3 separate regions of the Homo sapiens genome follow, and regions 2 and 3 are each linked to region 1. The links are contacts of gene promoters, found by promoter capture Hi-C in human tissues and cell types (Jung and others, 2019). All regions are on one chromosome and are shown on one strand. The core of a region is centred on a gene start or on the middle of the fragment in contact, and the rest is flanking DNA. Distances in the headings are between cores, read along the strand shown. Region 1 holds the start of DNAAF3 (dynein axonemal assembly factor 3). Region 2 has its middle 6.9 kb from the start of LENG8-AS1. Region 3 has its middle 5.4 kb from the start of MIR8061.

Region 1 (3,792 bases), core at 702-3,201:
CTACAGGCGCCTGCCACCACACCCGGCTAATTGTTGTATGTTTAGTAGAGACGGGGTTTCACCATGTTGAGCAGGATGGTCTCGATCTCCTGACCTCGTGATCTGCCCACCTCAGCCTCCCAAAGTGCTGGGATTACAGGTGTGAACCACTGCACCCAGCCTCTCCTGGAATTTTCTAAGTGGCTCTAAGATGTATTATATTTAGCCCCATTTTACAGGTAGGAGGAGCTGAGGCTCTAAGATGGCAAATTACATCAGAGGGGACCATCATCAATAAATATATTGGATTTTTTTTTTCATCAGAGGTACCACACTGGAAAATACCAAACATTTTTGGTTTTTAGATGGAGTTTCGCTCTCTTTTTTTTTTTTTTTTTTTTTTTTTTGAGACGGAGTCTCGCTCTGTCACCCTGGCTGGAGTGCAGTGGCGCGATCTCAGCTCACTGCAAGCTCCGCCTGCCGGGTTCACGCCATTCTCCTGCCTCGGCCTCCCAAAGTGCTGGGATTAACAGGCGTGAGCCACCGCGCCCGGCCGGAGTTTCGCTCTTGTTGCCTAGGCTGGAGTGCAATGGCGCGATCTCGGCTCACTGTAACCTCCGCCTCCCAGGAAAATAACCAAACTTTTTAATTGTACCATTGAAATGCCAGAATCCCTCTAGGGAGGGGGAGGAGACCAGCGGTCAGAATGCCTGGGTCCTAGCAACAGACCTTGCAGCCCCATCTTCTCCGGTTCCTCCAGGGCTAGGCTGAAGATCAGCATGTGTCGGGCCACAGCTTCCAGATTATTCTCCAGCACAAAGAACTAGAAGGATGGACAGGGCAGAATAATTCTGAGACCTGTTTGCCTGGGTCCTAGGAGACCCAGGAGAGCAGGCCCTCAGCTCTCTCCTTCCACACACCCGAGTTCTGTACACCAGCCTCTTCCTTCAAACACAGAAGTCTGTGTCCCCAGAGCTCTCTTCCCTTCCATTACTCAGAAGACCTCATCCTCGAGCTCTTCCCCACTATAGAACCCAGGAGTTCCAAACCCCAGCCCCTTCCTTCCCCCAAGACGCATCGGTTCGCTCCCAGCTTCTGCCTCCCTCAGATCTAGGAGTCTCCAGCCCCTTCATTCCTGGACCTGAGGTTTTAGAATTTCAATCCCTTCCTCCCTCAAGGACTCGGGAATCTGGGCTCTCATCTTCATCCCAGCTCACGTTGAACCTCCTGCGAGGCCAGAACTTCGCTCGGGACAGGGTCCGCAGCAGGTGCCGTCCATCCACAGAGCCCAGAAGCAGCACATCTAGCTCGGGGTTGCTGTGCACTGTATCGGCCTGGGAGTCTGGGTCCACAGGAGGACCTGGCAAGATGACAGCTGGCTGGGGCACCATGGTGGTTGGCAGAGCGTCCACCGTAGCATCCCCTATAAAAAATGGACTACAAATCCCAGTAGGCGTTCCGCCCGTGGCCTAGGTTCTAAGGGGAGGTGTTTCCTCTGAGTATTCTGGGATTCGCAGTCCGCAGACAGGACCTCGGGGCTGCCCCTGGGAGCGCGCCCTCTGCCGCTGGAGCGTTGGAGAACGTTAGCGCCCCCCTTGCCACCGACGCTGGGACTACGAGCTCTAAAAGGCCGTCTGCTCAGGCTGGGAAGGCAGACGGTGTATCAGACCTTGCGTGCTGGGACTCACTTTCAGCCTGCAGGTCCAGCGCCGGGGACAGGCCCCACCAGGACACGGAGCCGAAGCCGCTGCCGGAGCCGGCAGGTGTGGTCATCACCCTGCGGAAAAGACATTCTGGGAATCGCACACATTGCCCGCCCCGCTCCCCTCTCACCGCCCCTCACTTCTCGCCCCTTTGCCTCCACATGATACCTTGCCCACACCTTTATCCTCCAAATATCCCGGGACGCCCCTTCCTCTCTGCTCAGTGCAGCACTGTGGACCCGCGGCACTCCACAACCGCTGCCCAGAGTCCCCGCCCTTTTCGAGGAATCAAGCAATGGAAGCATGTGGGATGGGACCACAGCGAGCAACTGACCAATGAGAGTGAGCGAGGCCCGCCCTCTACAAACTTTTGGCCAATGGGAGCACTGAGGGCCAGCCTTCCCCCACACCTAGGAGAAGAGGGCGTGTGGACGCGGTTGTCATGACGACGGCGCCGGCGGGGGAAGGGGCGGTGCTAGAACAGGTTGGGGCGGAGTCAGGGTCGGTCCAAATTTCTGGAATGGGGGAGGCCTGGGCTGATTAAAATTGAGAGTGAAGGGAGCTTAATCTTATTTCTTGTTTTTTGTTTTTTTGTTTTCTTCATATGCCTTTGCTCATACGTAACGGAATTTTCATCAATTCAAATAAAGTGAAGTGTCTAGACTTTAGATGGCAGGCTTCTGAGCCCGCTCCCCGCCCCAGCACAACGTGGGCTCTACCACACAGAACAGCCCACAGGTGGGACACTGATGTGCAGGTCATTAAAAATTCAGGGATTTGTGAGCTGGTTATTGTTACACGAAGCCATAATTTAAACTTACAGCTAGATCCTTTTGTAGTTTCTAAGCGGGATGATTGGGTGTTCACGCGCATGCGTGAGATGTGCCTCCCTCAAACCTTGTTACGACATCGGCACATTACTCTTCTGACATGAACAAAAAAATTACAGGTAAATTCTGTAATCGTACAGTTAAATCAACTGCATTAAAATAAGGGTAAGTCGGCCGGGCGCTGTGGCCACGCCTGTGATCCCAACACTTTGGGAGGTCAAGGTGGGCAGATAACTTGAGGTCAGAAGTTGGAGACCAGTCTGGCCAACATGGTGAAACCGCGCCTCGACCTTAAAAAATACAAAAATTAACCGGGCGTGGTGGCACGCACCTGTAATCCCAGCTACTCCGGAGGCTGAGGCAGGAGAGTCTGTTGAACCTGGGAGGCAGAGGTTGCAGTGAACTGAGATCGCGCCTCTGAACTCCAGCCTGGGCGACAGAGCAAGACTCTGTCTCAAAAAAAAAAAAAAGAAAAACCAAAGTCTGAATGAGGCACATCTCTAGATCACCCCAGCACCCAGCACTGGGCTCAGCGCCCAAGGGGACTTGGCTCTCTGCCTCCTCTCCTTGCCCAGACACATGAGCTTAGACCAGTCACCCTTTCTGAGCCTCAGTCTGCTGCTCTGTGAAATGGGAATGTAGCGTGCAGCGGGCAGAGGTGCAGCGGATCTGCCTCCTGAGGGCAGATCTGGGCACTGGGAAGACAATACCTACTGGGGAAACGAAGGTTGAGACCTCAGACATTCCTGCAGAATCAGGCTGGCTAACCAGCCCCTTCCAGGCCAGCTCTAAGCCTGCAAGAGCCCCAGATCCTGGGTTTCTCTCTGGAGAATTAATGCCTTTCCTCCCTATTTCTCCCACTCTCCCAACAAATTCTCAGCAAAGGAACCAGAGTGACATTTTTTTTTTTTGAGATGGAGTCTTGCTGTGACACCCAGGCTGGAGTGCAGTGGCGCGATCTCGGCTCACTGAAACCTCCGCCTCCCGGGTTCAAGCGATTCTCCTGTCCCAGCCTCCCAGGTAGCTGGGACTACAGGCATTTGCCACCACACCAGCTAATTTTTGTATTTGTATTTTATTTTGTGTATATATATATATATACACACACAAAATAAAATACAAATATATGTATATATATTTATATATACACAAAATAAAATACAAATATTTTGTATATATATACAAAATAAAATACAAATATACATATATATACATATATATATATATATATATAGAGAGAGAGAGAGAGAGAGAGAGAGAGAGAGAGTTTCACTCTTGTT
Region 2 (3,792 bases), core at 941-3,440, 720 kb before region 1:
GATCCCTGAGGAACGGGAAACATCAAGGCAAGCCCTAAAATTGCCGCTGGGTCCTGTTGCAAGTTTCTAGACCACGGGACAGGGAGGGAAGACTGAGGCGGAGCTGGGAGGACTCCGTGAGCAGAGGAGACAAAGCAGGGAGTCTGAGCTTTGTTCTTGAGCTTTGTTTTGAGAATGAAGTTATGGGCCGGGTGCGATGGCTCACGCCTGTAATCCCAGCACTTTGGGAGACCGAGGTGGGTAGATCACCTGAACTCAGGTGTTCGAGACCAGCTTTGCCAACATGGTGAAACCCTGTCTCTACTAAATATATACAAATTCGCCGGGTGTAGTGGTGGGTGCCTGTAGTCCCAGCTACTCGGGAGCCTGAGGCAGGGGAATCTCTTGAACCTGGGAGGCGAAGGTTGCAGTGAGCCAAGATCGCGCCATTGCACTCCAGCCTGGGCAGCAGAGCGAGACTCCATCTCAAAAAATAAATAAATAAAAATAAAAATAAATTATCTTGGACTTCCAGCCTCCAGAACTGTGAGAAATAAGTGTTTGTTGTTTTTGAGCCACCAGTCCATGGTCCTCTGTTACTGCAGACTAGAATGCCAGGGAAAGAACCACCTGGAGGGACTGAAGCAAATAGCGCCTGAGTTCTGGGGACTCACACAGGCCTTGACAAGGCGCTGTTCCTGCCAGAAGAACCTCATAACTGAAGGAACACTGGGTAGAACACGGAGAGGGTCTTACATCAGCCGTGGGGAATAAGCAGCCCTAACCTGTTAAACACTGTTCTGGTCCTGCCTGAGGAATCTTAAAAGCAAAACCTGAAAGGATCAAGCTGCTTCCAAGTAAGGTGACTGCATTCTCAAACAAAGCTCAAGAATATTTATAGGCATACAAAAGTAACGAGTGCTCGACAAGGTAATACTGATATTGTCTAGTATCCAACAACAAAGTCACCAAATATGCAAAAAGCAGGAAAATAGGGCACATCATGAGGATAAAAATCATTCAACTGAAACGGACCCAGGAGTTAGAATTAGTAGGTAAGAACATTAGAACAACTATTATACTGTACTCCATACGTTCCAAAAGTTCTTTACAGATACGGAAGATATAAAAAAACTCAAACTGGATATCAACAGATAGAAATTACAATGTCTGAAATAAATAATGTACTGGCTGGAACAGCAGATTTTTGTTTTTTGGGGGAGAGTCTTGCTCTGTTGCCCAGGCTGTAGTGCAGTGGCATGATCTAGGCTCACTGCAACTTCCACCTCCCAGGTTCAAGCAATTCTCATGCCTCAGCCTCCCAAGTAGCTGAGACTACAGGCACCTGCCACCACATCCAGCTAATTTTTGTATTTTTAGTAGAGACGGGCTTTCACCATGTTGGCCAGGCTGGTCTCAAACTCCTGACCTCAAATGATCTGCCAGCCTCGGCCTCCCAAAGTGCTGGGATTACAGGTGCGAGCCACTGCACCCAGCCCTAGAACAGCAGATTAGACATTGCAGGAAAAAAAAAAAAATCTGGAAGACAACATTAGAAACTGTCCAAATGAAACATTTAAAAAAATGATTTTTTTTTTTTTACTTTTTAGACAGGGTCTCACTCTGTCACCTAGGCTGGAGTGCACTGGCGTGATCATGACTCACTGCAGCCTCAACCTCTCCAGCTCAAGCGATCCTCCCACTTTAGCCTCTCGAGTAGCTGGGACTACAGGCGCACACCACCATGTTTGGCTAATCTTTAAAAATTTTCTGTAGAGATGAGGTCTCACCATGTTGCCCAGGGTGGTCTCAAACTCCTGGGCTCAAGTGATCCTACTGCCTTGGCCTCCCAAAGTGCTGGGATTACAGGCATGAGCCACCATGCCCTGCCCCAGAAGGAATGAATATATTTTTTTTTAATGAAAAGAACACTGGTGAGCTGTGGGACATTTTAATATATGTGTAACTGGAGGCCCATAAGGAGAGAGAAAGAAAGGAACAGAGAGAGTGTTTAAAGAAATAATAACCCCAAATTTCCCAAATTTGATACAAACTATAAAACCAAAGATACAAGAAACTCAACACACCCCAAGCAGAAGAAACACAAAGATAAACCAAGATACATCATAATCAAATTTCTTAAGACCAGTAACAAAGAGAAAATCTTGACAACAGCCAGATGAAAAACAAAAAGATTTTATAAACAGAGGAACAAAAATTAGGATGACACCAGATTTCTCACTGGAAACAATGTGAGAAAGCAGTGTAAGAAAATTCTTAAAGTAGCAAAAGAAAAAAGTAGTCAACCTAGAATTCGATACTCACTGAAACTGTTTTTCAAAAGTGGGCCGGGCACGATGGCTCACGCCTGTAATCCCAGCACTTTGGGAGGCAGAGGCGGGCGGATCACAAGGTCAGGAGATCGAGACCATCCTGGCTAACACAGTGAAACCCCGTCTCTACTAAAAATACAAAAAATTAGCCGGGCGTGGTGGTGGACGCCTGTATTCCCAGCTACTCGGGCGGCTGAGGCAGGAGAATGGCGTGAACCCGGGAGGCGGAGCTTGCAGTGAGCCGAGATCGCGCCACTGCACTCCAGACTGGGCGACAGAGCAAGACTCCCTCTCAAAAAAAAAACCAAAAAAACAAAAGTGAAGACAAGGCCAGGCGCAGTGGCTCACACCTGTAATCCCAGCATTTTGGGAGGCTGAGGCAGGCGTATCACCTGAGGTCAGGAGTTCGAGACCAGCCTGGCCAACATGGTGAAACCCCGTCTCTACCAAAAAATACAAAAATTAGCTGGGTGTGGTGGTGGGCACAGAGCAGAGATAGAACAGTATCATAAGGCTGGGCGTGGTGGCTCACACCTGTAATCCCAGCACTTTGGGAGGCCAAGGCAGGCAGATCCCGAGGTCAGGAGTTTGAGACCAGCCTAGCCAATATAGTGAAACCCTGTCTCTACTAAAAATGCAAAAAGGAGCTGGGTGTGGTGGTGCACGCCTGTAATCCCAGCTACTTGGGAGGCTGAGGCAGTAGAACTGCTTGAACCTGGGAGGAGTAGGCTGCAGTGAGTCGAGACTGTGCCACTGCACTCCAGCCTGCATGACAGTGAGACTCCGTCTAAAAAAAAAAAAAAGGTATCATAAAAAATGCTCAAACTTCCAAACTTCTCTCCACAAATGGTGCTAGAACAACTGGACATCAACATGCCAAAAATAAATAAATCAAATCTATACACAGACCTTAGTCTCTTCACAAAAATTAACTCAAAATGGATCATAGAGCTGAATGTTAAATGCAAATCTATAAAACTCCTAGAAGATAACATAGGAGAAAACCTACATGACTGGGTTTTGTGAATTTTTTTTTTTGAGACAAGAGTCTCACTCTGTCGCCCAGGCTGGAGTGCACTGGCAGAATCTTGGCTCACTGCAACCTCTGCCTCCTGGGTTCAAGTGATTCTCATGCCTCAGCCTCCTGAGTAGCTGGAATTACAGGTGTGCGCCACCACGCCCGGCTAATTTTTGTATTTTTAGTAGAGATGGGGTTTTGCCACGTTGGCCAGGCTGGTCTCAAACTCCTGGCCTCAAGTGATCCACTCACCTCGGCTTCCCAAAATACTGGGATGACAGCTGTGAGCCACCACGCCCAGCCGTGATAATTTTTTTGATACATCAAAGGCATGATCCATGAAAGAAACTTACAAGCTTGACTTTATTAAAATAATAATAAAAAAACCCCTCTGCTAGGCCAGGCGTGGTGGCTCACGCCTGTAATCCCAGCTCTTTGGGAGGCCGAAGCGGGCGGATCATG
Region 3 (3,792 bases), core at 844-3,343, 520 kb before region 1:
AGTGATGCCCGCGTCTCACAGTTCTGCACTGTCTGCTGGACAAGGAAGACAAATGCTCCAAGTGTGGTCTCTGGGCTCTAAGTTCCCTCTAGACAATTGCGTCCTTTATTTAATCACTTCTCCCCACAATATCTGTTGGATCATACATTATGCCAGTTAATACGCAAGGACTTTGGGACTCAGTATTGAATAAAAATGATAATAACCATAGCCTCATATTGCTTCTTAGGCTCTCAAAAAATGAACGCAGTGTAAAAATTACCCAGATGTATGTCAGTTCCTCAGAAGATTAAACACAGAATTACCATATGACCCGGCAATTTCTGGGAAAATTAAAGCAAGGATTTAAAAGGATGCTCATATACTCATGTTCATAACAGCGTTATTCACATTAACAAAAAAGTAGAAAAAACCCAAAGATGGATAAATGGATAAACAAATGTTATAGAAACTAGGAAATACTGTTCAGTCTCTCAAAGAAATGAAATTGTGACTGACATACACTATAATATGGAGAGCCTTGAAGATATTATGCTAAGTGAAATAAGCCAGTCTCATAAAGGACAAATATTGCAAATATTGCTAAGATTCTATCTATATGAGCTACCTGTCAAACTCACAGACTCAGGAAGTAGAATCACGGTTAACAGAGGCTTGGGGGCCTGGAAACTGAGAGTTGGTGTTTACTGAATATAAAGCTTCAATTGGAAAGATAAAATACTTTGGGGATGGTGATGGCGATGGTTGCATAGCAATGTCAAACCACTTCACAATACTGCACTGTAGAGTTAGAAAGAGTAAATATGGTAAATTTTATTTCATTTGTTTTTTTTTTTACTATAATTTAAAATGAGAAAGAGTAGTAAAAACACACAAAAGAGAGGAGCTAACAGATAAAAAGTGCACTAAGTTAGCCAAGCCAGAGCTTTAAGAACCATTATCACTTCTCTCTCTCTTTCACCCCACAATCAACATTAATCAGGTCCAACCATGTGTTCTGCCTTCTTAGCACTGCTCACGTGTGTCCCCTCCTCTCTTATTTCCATGCACTCTGGCCCAGCTGGGCTTCTTCTCTCTTTGCCTGTGATTTGCTCTGTTGTCCTCCCTGGCTCAGACGTGCAGTCCCAGTCTCTCCTGATGCTTTGTCCCCACATTGAGGGCACTGCTGTTTCCCCACAGGCCACTCCTTTTTTTTTTTTTTTCTTGAGACAGAGTCTTACTCTGTCACCTAGGCTGGAGTGCAATGGCACGATCTCGGCTCACTGCAACCTCCACCTCCCAGGTTCAAGTGATTCTCCTGCCTCAGCCTCCTGAGTAGCTGGGATTACAGGTATACACCACCACACCCAGATAATTTTTTGTATTTTTTTTAGAGACAGGGTTTCACTGTGTTGGCCAGGCTGGTCTCGAACTCCTAACCTCGTAATCCTCCCACCTCAGCCTCCCAAAGTGCTGAACTCCTAATACACCCTCTGTCCTTTCCCACCTTGTCTGTGCCCTGGAGGCTGACTCTATGGATTGCATCATCAGTGTCTCCTTGCCTTTAGCGTCTGATTGAGTTCAACCATGGAGGCACTGTCAGGAGAGCAGAGGGTGAGAGGAGAGAGAGGCCGGGGAATCAATTCCCACACATATGCCCTGCCAGGCTGTGGTTTGTCAGCAACTGTGCTCCTCTACCCATGACATCAGCTCCCGCAAGGCACCTCCCATCTCCCACACAGGGCTCTCTCCACCCCTTGACCTCCCATCCTGGGAGTGGCAGTGGCTTCCTGGGGTGCTTCATCCCTCTCATTTGCCCACACCTTTATACACTTCTTTTTCTTTTTTCTTTTCTTTTTTTTTTTTTTTTTTTGACGGAGTCTCACTCTGTCACCAGGCTGGAGGGCAGTGGCACCATCTCAGCTCACTGCAAGCTCTGCCTCCCAGGTTCACGCCATTCTCCTGCCTCAGCCTCCAAAGTAGCTGGGATTACAGGCGCCCGGCTAATTTTTTGTATTTTTAGTAGAGACAGGGTTTCACCATGTTAGCCAGGATGGTTTTGATCTCCTGACCTTGTGATCCACCCGCCTGGGCCTCCCAAAGTGCTGGGATTACAGGCGTGAGCCACCGCGCCCGGCCTATACACTGCTTTTTCTATTTCCATTTTTATTTTAGAATTGGGGGTACATGTGTAGGTTTGTTACCAAGGAATATTGTGTGGCATTGAGGTTTGGAGTAAGACTGAGCCCCTCACCCAGGTAGGGAGCATGGTACCCAACAGGTAGTTTTTCAGCCCCATCCCCCTCCTCTCCACCCTCAGTGGTCCCCAGCGTCTACTGTTGCCATCTTTATGGGAAGATGTGTACCTAATATTTAGCTCCCACTTATAAGTGAGAATATGTGGTATTTGGTGTTCAGTTTCTACATTAGTTTACGTAAGATAATGGCCTCCAGCTGCATCCATGTTGCTGCAAAGGACATGAGTTCATTCTTTTTTATGGCTGTGTAGTCTTCCATGGTGTATATGGACCACATTTTCTTTATTTGGTTCACTGTTGATGGGCAACGAGGTTGATTCCATGTCTTTTCTATTGTCAATAGTGCTGCAATGATCATCCAAGTGTGTGTGTTCTTGACTAGAATGATTTATTTTCCCTGGATATATACCCAGTAATAGGACTCCTGGGTCAAATGGTAGTTCCATTCCTAGTTATTTGAGATATCCTCAAACTGCTCTCCACGGCGACTGTTAGTCCTAGCTCTTTGAGAAGCCAAGGTGGGAGGATTGCTTGAGGCCAGGAGTTTGGGGCCATTCGATTCTCTAACTACTACCCCTGCTGTATAGAAATGTCATTGATATGGATTTGTTTTTATTTTCTTATAAATCCTAATGGACTTTGAATTTTCTATTTAGAGAATCTTACTACCTACAAGTAATGAAAAAATCTCTCTAGCCCTCATATATCTTATTTTTAGTTTTTTACTTTTACTGATATTATTACATCAGTTAGGACACCTCAGTAGAAAATGGAATAAAAGTGGAAAGACCATTAAGCCTCGTTTTGTTCATATTTTAGTGGAAATTGATCTAAGCTTCATCATTAAATATAATATTTGCTATTGATTTGTTGCTGGGCATCCTTTAACATGTTTATGATGTTTCATTCTATTCCTAATTCATTAAGATTTTTTAAACCATAAATAAGTGCAGATTATAGTAATATTGAGCAAATATTTTCTTCTCACCTCCAATGGGCCACCCTCTAGACCCCCTACCCTCACCCTCATCTCCCCTACCTCACCGCGGGTCTCTGTCCTCAGACCCCTGCTGCAGGGGACCCCTGGAGGTGACATATGCTCAGCTGGACCACCAGGCCTTCACTTGGAGGACAGCCCAGGCTGTGTCCCCAGAGTCCATGGTGCCCATGGCTGAGTCTAGCATGTACACAGCCCTCGCCAGGCACTGACTCCGGGACCACTGCCCCCTGCGCCTGAGGAAGTCATGCTTGGAAAAGCCTCAAGAAGCCATCTGGAGGGCTTCCCCTTGGAATCATCCTGGTCTGCAAAACCAGTCAACTGTTCTGGAGATAAGAGGTAGAGCCCAAAGTTCTCTAGTCAGCATCTAGAAAGTTCATTAACCAGGTGATTCCTTCCACAACTGACCAGCACCTCAAAGAGGTGGCATTGCAGCTACTTCTAGAAACCCAGCTGCAATCACCTGGCTGTTTCCAGACACCTAGTTCCAGTCACCTGGTTGTTTCCAGTGATCCAGCTGCTGTCACTTCTCTGTTTCAAGACACCCAGCTCCAGTCT

What was found. The method cuts DNA at HindIII sites, captures the fragments that hold promoters and counts their contacts. A contact is called where the count stands out against the background at its distance.
Region 2: a fragment that was not itself captured here is called in contact with the fragment with the promoter of DNAAF3 in region 1 in 1 of the 25 tissues and cell types used here (dorsolateral prefrontal cortex).
Region 3: a contact is called between a fragment that was not itself captured here and the fragment with the promoter of DNAAF3 in region 1, in 1 of the 25 tissues and cell types used here (lymphoblastoid cells).

What each region holds. Positions count from the first base shown.
Region 1 is chr19:55,164,662-55,168,453 of GRCh38, forward strand. It overlaps DNAAF3 (dynein axonemal assembly factor 3), which reads right to left and starts at 1,952. Exons shown (of 12, transcript NM_001256715.2): 1 at 1,862-1,952; 2 at 1,668-1,756; 3 at 1,197-1,339; 4 at 709-802. The coding sequence starts at 1,752. DNAAF3-AS1 (DNAAF3 antisense RNA 1) reads left to right here. Exons shown (of 4, transcript XR_007067345.1): 3 at 1-139; 4 at 1,158-2,243. It overlaps LOC124904795 (small nucleolar RNA U13), which reads left to right and starts at 2,510; the gene lies at 2,510-2,613. RefSeq lists a silencer at 1,332-1,563. The HindIII fragment of the contact is 9,836 bases long and covers 1-3,792 here.
Region 2 is chr19:54,440,212-54,444,003 of GRCh38, forward strand. No RefSeq gene overlaps it. Among named protein-coding and RNA genes, the nearest start is that of LENG8-AS1, 6.9 kb to the right of the region's middle. The HindIII fragment of the contact is 7,065 bases long and covers 1-3,792 here.
Region 3 is chr19:54,648,785-54,652,576 of GRCh38, forward strand. It overlaps the pseudogene VN1R105P. Among named protein-coding and RNA genes, the nearest start is that of MIR8061, 5.4 kb to the left of the region's middle. The HindIII fragment of the contact is 4,026 bases long and covers 81-3,792 here.